Linked DNA regions of Homo sapiens: regions 1 and 3 are each linked to region 2. The links are contacts of gene promoters, found by promoter capture Hi-C in blood cells and fetal thymus (Javierre and others, 2016). All regions are on one chromosome and are shown on one strand. Each heading gives the region's core, a stretch centred on a gene start or on the middle of the fragment in contact. The rest is flanking DNA. Distances are from core to core; before and after follow the strand shown. Region 1 overlaps NME7 (NME/NM23 family member 7). Region 2 holds the start of LINC00970 (long intergenic non-protein coding RNA 970). Region 3 has its middle 22 kb from the start of DPT.

The links. The method cuts DNA at HindIII sites, captures the fragments that hold promoters and counts their contacts. A CHiCAGO score of 5 or more calls a contact.
Region 1: a fragment that was not itself captured here is called in contact with the fragment with the promoter of LINC00970 in region 2 in 1 of 17 cell types (erythroblasts); the score reaches 5.5 in erythroblasts.
Region 3: a fragment that was not itself captured here is called in contact with the fragment with the promoter of LINC00970 in region 2 in 1 of 17 cell types (M2 macrophages); the score reaches 7.8 in M2 macrophages.

Annotation. Positions count from the first base shown.
Region 1 is chr1:169,348,644-169,352,480 of GRCh38, forward strand. All of the region lies in intron 1 of NME7 (NME/NM23 family member 7), which reads right to left. Among named protein-coding and RNA genes, the nearest start is that of NME7, 17 kb to the right of the region's middle. The HindIII fragment of the contact is 5,177 bases long and covers 1-3,837 here.
Region 2 is chr1:169,085,601-169,089,822 of GRCh38, forward strand. LINC00970 (long intergenic non-protein coding RNA 970) reads right to left here and starts at 1,405. Exons shown (of 5, transcript NR_104091.1): 1 at 1,355-1,405. The HindIII fragment of the contact is 14,978 bases long and covers 1-4,222 here.
Region 3 is chr1:168,749,181-168,753,254 of GRCh38, forward strand. No RefSeq gene overlaps it. Among named protein-coding and RNA genes, the nearest start is that of DPT, 22 kb to the left of the region's middle. The HindIII fragment of the contact is 1,586 bases long and covers 1,097-2,682 here.

The DNA.
Region 1 (3,837 bases), core at 1,087-3,586, 260 kb after region 2:
GGATTTAACATATCCTGCCCAAAAAGCCATTTCACAAAGCCATTTCACAAAGCCATTTCACAAATACCCTCAATTTTAGCCCTGTAGTTATTCATTAAACCATAGTAATTTTGCAGAGCCCTAGTCAAGTATCAAAATATGAATTATGAATTCCTGAAAAAAATGTATATCACCTATATCCACTAGAAACTGAGTTTTTGAAAAGGAAGTTAAATTTCTATAGCTACATAAAAGCAAAAGAAAGAGTTAACTCAAAAAAAAAAAAAATTTTAAACATCGTGACCCTAAGTAGTAGGCTAGAAAGAACATGAGGTTCTAGGCTAAATAGGTTCAAATTTGGGCCCTACCGCTTTCTAGCGTATAATCTTGGGTATTTTAAAAAACTGAGGTTTCCTTATGTGAAAAGAATATACAGTAGGCATTCAATAAGTGATAGATATTAACTATTAAGAAAAAGAGATTTCCCATTCTTTTTTAAAGAATAAGTTAATAAGTTTCTTTTTTTAAAGAAAAGTGAGAGCAAGTTTATTAAGAAAGTAAAGGAATAAAAGAATGCCTACTCCATAGGAAGAGCAGCCTCCTTTTGTTTTTAATATATCCCCTCCAGTCATCGGGACTTTAGGAAACATTTTAATGAAAGGATAGCTTGTGCCAGGTCAACAATTTCATTTCTCTCTAATTCCTTGCATAAAAGAGGACCCAATCTGGGGTGGGGGGGTTATCCTTTGCCCAGTCAGCCCCAAATAAGTTTAAAGTTTTTAAATTTATTGATGAAATTATCAAACAGCCACTCTTATGGAATATGCGTGACATTCAGTGAATTCTCTTCCATTGCTTTCTAACATCTAATAAATTCCTTTCGCTTGCTTTCTAACATCTAACAAATTACATAACAGTATCTTAAACAATTAAAAACAATAATTTAAAAAATGCTATTAAATCATTTCAAGAATATCTTTCTCATGACATTTTTAAAAAAGGTTTAATCCACAATGTATGTCTATTTAGTGTGTGTGTGTTGTGTGTGTAACAGAACCTCTTTTTTTAAAACCCTGGATTCATTTTATCAAGCTCCTTACAAATTTTCCAAAATTAAGTCCCTTTTTAGCCTAATCCTTTCTTTAAGGCTATAGATTTCTCATTTGTATTAGTAAGAATGTAACTGTATAAAAGGAACAGTATCTCAAAAGCTCAGTGTATTAATTAGAATAGTTTTCTAAGCAAGCTATTACTGAGGGACTACAAGAGTGAGTAAGAAATAAGCCCTACCTCCATGGTGTCTCATGCCTGTAATCCCAGCACTTTGGGAGGCCGAGGCAGATGGATTGCCTGAGGACAGGAGTTCGAGACCAGCCTGGCCAACATAGTGACACCCTGCCTCTACTAAAACTACAAAAACATAGCGGAGTGTGGTGGTGGGTGCCTGTAATCCCAGCTACTCAGGAGGCTGAGGCAGGAGAATCACTTGAACCTGGAAGGTGGAGGTTGCAGTGACCCAAGATCGTGCCAAGAAAGAAAGAAAGAAGAAAGAAAGGAAGGAAAGGAAGGAAAGGAAGGAAAGAAAGGAAAGAAAGGGAGAAAAGAAAGAAAGAAAGAAAGAAAGAAGGAAGGAAGGAAGGAAGGAAGGAAGGAAGGAAGGAAGGAAAGAGCCCTGCTCTCAAGGAGCTCACTCTCCTTAGTACATTACTGAGTCCCAACTCAGAGAGCCAGACAGCAGGATAGAGAGGTATTAATAAATTCCCAATGCATGTCTTTGAAAGTAGATGGATCCATTCTCCACCAGCACTGCCTTCCCAGAAGACTACAGCCTGTGCAAAACGCAGAGGGGATCTTGAAGAAAGCAGGAGTGATGGGGCAGAGATGCCTCTACTTCTGCTTGGCCCTGGATGTTTCTCTCTTTTGTCTCCTAGATTTTGGATGTCTGTCCCTCTCCCTCTTTATTGGTCCTGGATTTCTTTCTCTCCCTCTCTCTAGCTTCACGTTGTATATCTTTCTTTCCTAGAGAAATAGAAGGATATTCAAGAAAAGAGGGAAAAAAAGAAAAATAAGGCAAACATAAAAGAGATTAAAAATAGAGAAGTGATGTGAGCACTTACTGATATGGTATTAACTAAATAAACTTTGTAATTTCTTTCCTTCGTTTGGAAATTAGAATTACTTCAATGTGGAATAGTCATATACACATACAGACATGCACATCACATGTAAATGGGATCATCACACTGAGGTAGAAGACATGTGGGCCTTTCAGTATGTCCCAACTAGTTTCTTTAGCTATAAAATTTGGGAATAAGACTAGATCAATAGTTCAAAAACATTTTCCTGTTTCCTTTTTTCTTTCTTTTTTTTCTTTTTTCTTTTTCCCCTATTTCTTAACCTATAGTAAGAACCACAGTTTCCATTGGGACCAATACACACCCACACCCACATCCACCCACAACCACACACACACATGCCCTACAACTGGAATAAAATTCTCAAAAACAATTCTTATTCTCAATATGTGAAATGTACTGATATTTTTATACCTTTTTTTAAAAGCTGTCTATTACTTACAATTTAGCGCCTACAATCCAGTGATACATCATAACCTCAATTTCATAATCACTGATGTTAACCAAAATCAAAGGTCTCTTTCAGATCTAAGACTTTATGACTTGAATGACCAGTGGGTCAATGAAGAAATTAAAAAGAAAATTGCAAATTTTCTTGATACAAACGATAAAGGAAACACAATATACTATTAGTTATGGAATGCTACTAGCTAGGGAATTCAGTGAAAGCAGTATTAAGAGGGAAATTTATAGCTCTAAGTGCCTACATTAAAAAAAAAGAGAGAAAAACTTCAAATAAATAGCCTAATGATGAACCTTAGAAAATTACAAAACCTGGAGCAAACTGAAACCAAAATTAGAGGAAAAGAAATAATAAGATCATGGCAGAAATAAATGAATTTGAAATGAAAAAAAAATACAAAAGATCAATGAAACAAAAAGTTGGTTCCTTGAAAAGATAAACACAATTGATAATCCTTTAGTCAGAGTAAGAAAAATAGACAGAAGGCCCAAACAAATAAAATCAGAGATGAAAAAGGAAACATTACAAATGATACTGCAGAAATTCAAAAGATCATTGATGGCTACTATGAGCAACTATATGCCAATAAATTTAAAAATCTGTAAAAAATCAAAAACTTCCTACACACATAAAACCTACCAAGATTGAACTGGGAAGAAATCCAAAACATGAAAACACCAATAATGAGTAACAAGATCAAAGCCATAATAAAAAGTCTCTGAGTAAAGAAAAGCCCAGGACCTGATGGCTTCACTGCTGAATTCTACCAAACATATAAAGAACTAATACCAATCCTATTCAAACTATTCCAAAAAATAGAGGAAGAGGTAATATTTCCAAGCTCATTCTATGAGCTCAGTATTACCCTGATACCAAAACCAGACAACAACACATCAAAAAAAAAAGAATGAAAAAGAAAACTACAGAACAATATCTCTAATATTGATGCAGAAATCTTCAAAAATGCTAGAAAACTGAATTCAGTAACACGTTAAAAATATCATTCATCATGACCAAGTGGGATTTATCCCTGAGATGCAGGGATGGTACAACACATGCAAATCAATCAATGTGATACATCATATCAACAGAATGTAGAACAGAAACCATACAATCATTTCCATTGATGCCGAAAAAGCATTTGATAAAATTCAACATCCCTTCTTGTTAAAAACATCAAAAAATTGGATATAGAAGGAACATATACTTCAACATAATAAAAGCCATATATGACAGCCCCACAGCTAGTATCACAATGAA
Region 2 (4,222 bases), core at 155-2,654:
GGAGGGAACAGCCAAAAGGAGTTCATTCCTTTACAAATTCTGAGTATGCACCAGGCACAAAACCAGGGGTTGGGGCTCCTTCCTGCTTGGAGCTCAAGGCCAGGAGGTAAGAGGGAGCTTGGCATCTTGAAGGAAGAGAAAGAACTTCAGTCTGAGTGCAGCCCACCCTGAGAGGGTCAGAGGAAGAGCCCACTCACTCCCCCTGGGTGGGTGAGCCTCCAGGCGCTGGTGGATGTAGGTCAACTACTAAGATGGTGCAGAAACCAGAAGGCCCTCCAACAACTGCTCCTCCTCCTTCAGGAAGTTCTTTGCTTAATTTATTTTTGCTTTGGGGGTCAGAAGCCTATTTGTAAAGCATTTAAACTTTGCTGGGACTCAGCTACTCAAACTATCAGCCCTTCAGTCCAGCATCCCTGAAGCCTAAACAGGCAAGAAGCTCATCTTTGGCTTCAGCCTGAGGTCATGGGCTGCAGGAACCGGTGGGATCTGTTTATCAAGACCACTGAAGACCTGCGGGAGGAAGGATCTTATCTCAGTGTTGCCATGGGGACTGCTGGCTGGATTGACTGAATGCTCTGCAGAAAATGACTCTTTTTTAGAAGAGAAAATAGTTGCTATTTTCCAAAGGCTAAATGTGGAGTGAGGTGGCAGTGAGGGGGAAAACAGAAGGCCTGTGAGGGTAAGAAGTGGGGACCAAGGCCAACTCTGGCTAAAGAAGAATGGGGACAGGCTGCTCCAGGACTCAAGAGCTTGAGATTCATGCTAACCCACTCCAAGAGTTCAGGCCTCCACCAGAGGACATGGCTCTATTCATACAAGAATTTTATACAGAAAATAGTAGATCTGAGATTTACAAAACTCATTTTCAATTTCATAGGCTACAGCCTTCAGATAACTCCAAGTCACATCACATGTCTAATAGTTGTCTCAGAAAGAAGTACCCAAAAGGCATTTCCTCCAAAGGTCCTTCAGAAACTGTGAAATGGGCTCTATTTGAAGAAAACCATTTCCATCAATGTGCGCAGAGCCTCAGTATGAGTGTGCAGCACAGCTGAGCCTGTCATCCCTCGGAACACAGTCTGGGATTGCCTGGTGGCTGTCTGGCTATAAGGACTTTGGACATTATCCCCAACTCCCCATGGAAGAATTTTCCCTGTGTTTCCCACCAACAATACTGAGCCAAACTGCTTTTGATGTCCCCGGAGTTATCTGATCACCTAGATGACACTGAACAGAGCAAGATGACTAGGAGACAGCAGCTCAGCCCTGACATCTGCTCAAGGCCAGCAGCAAAAGTTCCAGGAGTTATATGAGCCACTAGGTCCATCCAATCTACCATCTGTCACTGGCTTACCTTGCCACCTTGGGTCACTGACTTCCCCACTCTGTGCCATCTGTGAAATGTGCATAATAGCACACCAAGTCCTTCTGTACCTCCTCCTTCTTCTCCTGTTCTCTCTCCCTCCCTGCTTCCCTCTCTCCCTTCCTCCTCCCTCCCTCTCTCCCTTTCTTTCTCTCTCTCTACCTCTCTTCCTATCCCCCTCTCTCTCCTTCTCTCTTTTTCCTATAGAAGAGAGATGATGTGTTTGTAAAGTGCTTTGAGCTCCTTGGAGATAGAGAGTCTATAAATATAAGCTGTTATCACTGTTACCATGGAAACACACACAGACAACTGTGCTCTGTTTCTGCATTTGCTGAGCATAATTCTGGCCTTCTTGCCCTGCTGGCTGTTAAACAATCAATGGTTTTACAAAGCTCAACAGCCAGGTAATAGGTGGAGCCTCAAGGCTGAACTTATTTGCTATTCAACTCTTCTTCATGTGAATTTTCAAAAACTGTGTTTCTGTTTGCTAAGGTAGAGGATCGTATAAGATTGGCCAGAGCCAGCTGTTAAACCAGGGATGCAAATAATGACAGGCATAGGTATGCCACCCAACCCAGGACCCTGATCTGTAACAAGGGAGAATTCCAATGAGCTGCAAAAATAATATTCTACCCATTTCCTAAATTTACTCCAACTCCTAACTCCTCAACTTTACAACCAGAGCTGGCAAAATGTTGGAATAAAGAGAGTTATGAGTTTGCACCCTTCTGCCAATTTGTGACCATCTGAAAAGCAGGGGCTATATCTTTTTCATTATTGTCTCCACAGGGCCTAGCACAGTGCCTGCACATAGCAGATGCTGCGCAGAGGCCTGTGGAAAAAAAAAATGAATAAGCGAGTTATAAATGGCTGTTGTTTTCTATTACACAGGTAAAAGTGTTGTTGAGTGAGGTATGCCGTCAAATGTTGGCTTGGGCCTCGGGATCTCAGAGGACATCAGTTTTGGCATGGCCAATCTGCTTCCTTCACCCTACCATCATAGTGAGAACAACGATATCACTTCACTTCTAGTTTAATGGGTGGTCCTGGGAAAGTTGCTCTGTATCTGAAAGCCCCATATAGAATGACGTAACCTAGTTGTTAACCAGACAACTGAAAGATCCAGTGCAAAAAGTGAAAGTGTGAAAACCATAGGAAAAGTCCTTTTTCCTCTCAGGCAATGCTGTGATCTCAGGGGTAAGTTTTCCAGGCCTCAGTTAGGAATGCAGTGAAATGGGAATGGGCTTTGGACTCAGACACATCAGAACTCAGTGTGTGAGCTCTGCCACTTACTGACCTTCCTGAGCCTCCCTTCTCCCATTTGTAAAATCAGAATAATAGCACTCTCTCACAGGTTTGAGGTGGCAGTTAAACAAAATTAGTATATAAACCCATAGCTCAGTGGCTGGCACCAGTCAATGATTTATGCATGATCATTCCATTCCATTAGTTTGCCAGTATGTATGAATATCCATTTATTTTGAATACTTCACTTACTAGTTTATTCTAAAGGCCTGGCAGATGTTTCAGGTCCCACTAAGATGAGTGTATGTGATGTCTCTGCCTTTGGAAAGCCGGATTGGAGGATGTGAAAGGGAGAGAGAAAATGCTCAAACACAGACAGGGAGTCGGGACCTGCTACATAATTTGCAGAGTCCAGTGCAAAATGAAAATGCAGGGCACTTGCCAGAAAATTTATTAAGAATTTCAAAAAGGTGACAACTGAGCATTAATCCAAGCAGGGGGTTCCACTAAGCTAAGGACGCCGTGTAACTGCATAGATTGCACACCGATGAAGTCAGCCCTAAAGCCAGGGCAGAGGTAAACTGGTTTCCAGGCTTGGTACAGACGATATACTGATGAAGTAAGTACAGTGAGTGATGCAGTTTCATGGTGTTACCCAAATGCTGTTTTTGTCATCAGGTAGCTCTAATATGATCACAGAGGACAGAGGTATTTTTTCTACAAAATACTTGAATACATGGAATTCATATTCTAAGCTAAACCTAACTGATAGTAAAGGTCATTTCAGGAGGAAAACACTTACAAAAACAAGCAAACTCCTATAGGAGTGGTTATGATTGCATAAAACACATAATAATTGTGTTCAGAGATTCAAATTGTTCCTGTATCATTGTTCATAGACGATATGGGGGAGAGGTCAAATTACAAAGCGTACAAAGCATTTATCTACTTACACAATTGCTATTTATTAAACCCCCTACTGTATACAAGGTATGGTGCCAGGTCATGTGAGGGAAACAGAAAAAGATATCATCAGCCATAATATGATCTCTCACGTTCCTTTCAGGTCTAACAATTTAGGATTCCTTGATGAAGACATAAGGCCTACCTTTAAGAAACGTAAGTTTAGTGCTGTAGCAGAAACTGAAATGGGCCGGGCACAATGGCTCATGCCTGTAATGCCAGCACTTTGGAAGGCCAAGGTGGGCGGATCTCTTGAGGCCAGGAGTTTGAGACCAGCCTGGCCAACATGGCAAAACACCGTCTCTACAAAAAATACAAAAATCGGCATGGTGTGGTGGCAGACACCTGTAATCCCAGCTACTTGGGAGGCTGTGGCACAAGAATTGCTTGAACCCAGGAGGAGGAGGTTGCAGTGAGCTGAAATAGCACCACTGCGCTCCAAAACAAAAAAATTAAAATGAAATTGCTCTGTATGGGGTGTTTATAACTGATTGCATAAATAAGCATACAAATAATTATTATTTATATTATTTTATAATAATATATTAATATAAATATATATTTATATTATTTTTATTATTTTATATAAATAATTTATATAAAAATCCTACAAATCAAAAGGAAATCTAGGCAAAACACCATATAAAAATC
Region 3 (4,074 bases), core at 640-3,139, 340 kb before region 2:
TCTGCCTCCCAGGTTCAAGCGATTCTCCTGCCTCAGCCTCCTGAGCAGCTTGGACAACAGGCTCGTGCCACCACACCTGGCTAATTTTTGCATTTTTAGTAGAGACGGGGTTTCACTATGTTGGCCAGGCTGGCCGTTGTATCATTCTTATGCCTTTGCTTCCTCATAGCTTAGCTTTCACTTATAAATGAGAAAATATGATGTTTGGTTTTCCATTCCTGAGTTACTTCACTTAGAATAATGGTCTCCAACTCCATCTAGATTGCGGCAAATGTCATTATTTCATTCCTTTTTATGTCTGAGAGGTATTCCATGGTGTGTGTGTGTGTGTGTGTGTATATATGTGTGTGTGTATATATATGTGTATGTATATATGTGTGTATATATGTGTGTATATATATGTGTGTATATATATGTGTATGTGTGTGTGTGTGTGTATGTATATATATATATATATATATATATATATATATATATATATATATATCACATTTTCTTTATCCACTCATTGACTGATGGGCATTTGGGCTGGTTCCATACTTTTTGCAAATGCAAATTGTGCTGCTGTAACTACATGTGTGCAAGTGTCTTTTTCATGTAATGAATTATTTTCCTCTGGGTGATACCCAGTAGTGGGATTGCTGGATCAAATGGTAGCTCTATTTTTAGTTCTTTAAGGAATCTTCACACTGTTTTCCATAGTGGTTGTACTAGTTTACATGCCCACCAGCAGTGTAAAAGTGTTCCTTTGTCACCATACTCATGCCAACAGCTATTTTTTTTAAATTTTTTTTTATTATGTCCATTCTTGCAGGAGTAAGGTGGTATTGCATTGTGGTTTTCACTTGCATTTCCCTGATCATTAGTGATGTTGAGCATGTTTTTCATGTTTCTTGGCCATTTATATATCCTCTTTTGAGGATTATCTATTCATGTCCTTAGGGGACATGGATTAGTATTTTTTTCTTGCTGATTTGTTTGAGTTCTTTTTAGATTCTGGATATTAGTCCTCTGTCAGATGCATAGATTGCAAAATTTTTCTCCCATTCTGTGGGTTGTCTGTGTACTCTCCTGATTATTTCTTTTGCTGCACAGAAGCTTTTTCTTTAATTTCCTTAATTAGGTCCCATTTATTTATTTTTGTTTTTGTTGCATTTGCTTTTGGGTTCTTAGTCATGAAGTTTTTGCCTAAGTCACTGTCTAGAAGGTTTTTCCACTGTTATCTTCTAGAATTTTTATGGTTTCAGGTCTTAGATGTAAGTCTTTGATCCACCTTGAGTTGATATTTTTATAAGATGAGACATGAGACTCCAGTTTCATTCCTCTACATATGGCTTGCCAATTATCCCAGCACCAGTTGTTGAATAGGGTGTCCTTTCCCCACTTTACGTTTTTGTTTGCTTTGTCAAATACTAGTTGGGTGTAAGTATTTGGCTTTATTGCTGGTTCTCTATTTTGTTCCATTATTCTGTGTGCCTGTTTTTATACCAGTACCATGCTGTTTTGGTGACTATAGTCTTTGCTAGTATAGTTTGAAGTTGGGTAATGTGATGCCTCTAGATTTGCTCTTTTTGGTTAGTGTTGCTTCAGCTATGAAGGTACTTTTTTGGTTCTATATGAATTTTAGGATTGTTTTTTCAAGTTCTGTGAAGAATGATGGTATTTTGGTATTTTGATGGGAAATGCATTGAATTTTTAATTTGCTTTCTGGTCCTGGGCTTAAGAAAGAAAGGAAGTGAAGGTATAGTAATAATTAAAGACAGGAAGTTCTTGATCAGGGTTGTGAAAGCTCCTTTCCCTGTAATGGATTAGAGAGGTCCTAAAGATCCTAGCCAGACTACAGATCAAATCCCTGCTCTTCAATATTCTTTGATGTCTCAAGCAAGTACAGTTAAACTCTGAGTCTCCACAATTGTAAAAATTGAGATAATAATATCCAGTTCTCAAGATTATTATAAGGATTAAATGATAATCATGTCTGTGAAGTACTCAGGCACTGCTTGGCACATAGTAACCTCTTGGTAGTTGAGAATCATTCCAAGGCTATTTTTCTAGCCTGCCACAATCCTGCCACCAGACTCCACATTCCCTCCTCATTCAGTAAACATAGAAGTGCAGCCTGGAATGCTTTCCATCTTCTGTCTGTTTAAAAAATCTACTCAAATGAGTAGGTGTGTGGTGGAGTGGCGAGGGGAGAGACTGCGGAGTCAGCAAGAAATCCTTTGGCAGTTAAAGTTATTTGAACTCAAAGCCTGTGTTCGCCCAACTGTAAAGTAGGGATAATAACATTGTCTGCCTCACAGGATTCTTGTATAACATAAGAAAATGCATGTGAAAGACTGAGCACAATGCTTGGTAGCAAGCAGTCAATAAAGGATGCCTATTAACTCTGCTAGGCAATAAGAGCTCAACTCAGTAGCATCCTCCTGTCTGAAGGTTTTTCTGTAATTGCTCCCTGTGCTGCCATAACACACTGTCTGTAGTGCATTTCTTTTCAACATGAAATTGTCATATTGCCATGTGTAAAAATTAGTAGCATATATAAAACATCTATACAAGCTCATGTGCTCCTTAAGGACAAAGACTGTTTCAGTGATGAGGTCCTCACAATCAGTGGGGGTTACATAGTAAAGGCTCAGAAGACATTGTTGAACTGAACTGAAATGACAAATTAAAACAGAAAGCTTTTCTACTAAGATGATAACTAGGAAGACAGTTATCATGTCCCCTAAACAACAGTAAAACTAGCAAGAAGTAAACCATGTTTAACAGTCACTCTAACATGGATGGTCAGGAAATTGATTGCAAGTGAGAAAAAGAGATGGAAATAATTGAGAAAAATATTTATGTGTCAGAAAGAAAAGTGTGAATCAATTACTAGAGTTATGAATATTAAGCAAGTTGCTTGAGAAGCATTGATGTACGGATGAATTGGGCAATTTTTCCCAAGTTTTCCACAAAAAGGAATCAAGATCACTCAGCTGCTGACAGATGATTTTTACCTTTCAGATTCAACATTATTTACTGTCACCCAGCTAAAGACAAAGGAGTTTACACGTTGTGTATGTAAATATTAACTGGGTGATGACTCACATTTTTATGGGAGCTCTATAATTCATAGTTATACGTGCAGACAAGCATCCCACTGAGAGACTGGGTGTGGGGAGAAGGGCATGGAAATTAAACCACTGCAAGTTTCCACGCACACCACTTCCTCCTTATCTGTGAAATTTTATCTTCTCTGTTATTGTCCAAGACGCTGTTGTGCAAACCCCTCACATCTGAAAGTCCTGGGAAGAGAACTGTGGTATGAGTTTTCAGGAATCGGGGCTAGATATGGGAGTACTTTTCCATGAAACAAAAGCGGATAACACCCCCCGCCCTCAACTCCAGGGCTTAATCAAAGGAGACCAAACCCTTGCTATAGGCATCAAGTTTGTATGCAGGATGAAGTATGGCAGACAACGAGGGAGGGAGTGTTTATTCAAACACATATGCAGCCCCTGTCCTAAATCAGTGCCAAATTGGGTGATGGCAAACCTAAGAAATACAGTGTCTCACTGATACAATCCCAGCTCCTCCTCAATGTTAAAGGGTAATTTATAAGTTAAAGTGAAAAGATTTTTTTTTCCAAGAGTCTTGCTCTCACACAGGCTGGAGTGCAGTGACGCTATCTCGGCTCACTGCAAACTCTGCCTCTCGGGTTCAAGCAATTCTCTGCCTCAATCTCCCGAGTAGCTGGGATTATAGGTGCCCACCACCACACCTGGCTAATTTTTGTGTTTTTAGTAGAGATGGGGTTTCACCATCTTGACCAGGCTGGTCTTGAACCCCTGACTTCATGATCCACCTGCCTTGGTCTCCCAAAGTGCTGGGATTACAGGCGTGAACTACCATGCCGAGCCAAGAATATTTTCAAAAACTAAATTTAGTATCTATTGTTTGCCTGAAAGGTCCAGGGGATATTGGTGTTGGTGGGAATGGTTCTAATTCTTATGTTCCTGGAAGTCCACAGATTTCTGTTCATGCCCAGGATCTGCTGCGCTCATGGAGGATGTCAGGCAAGTTGCTTAG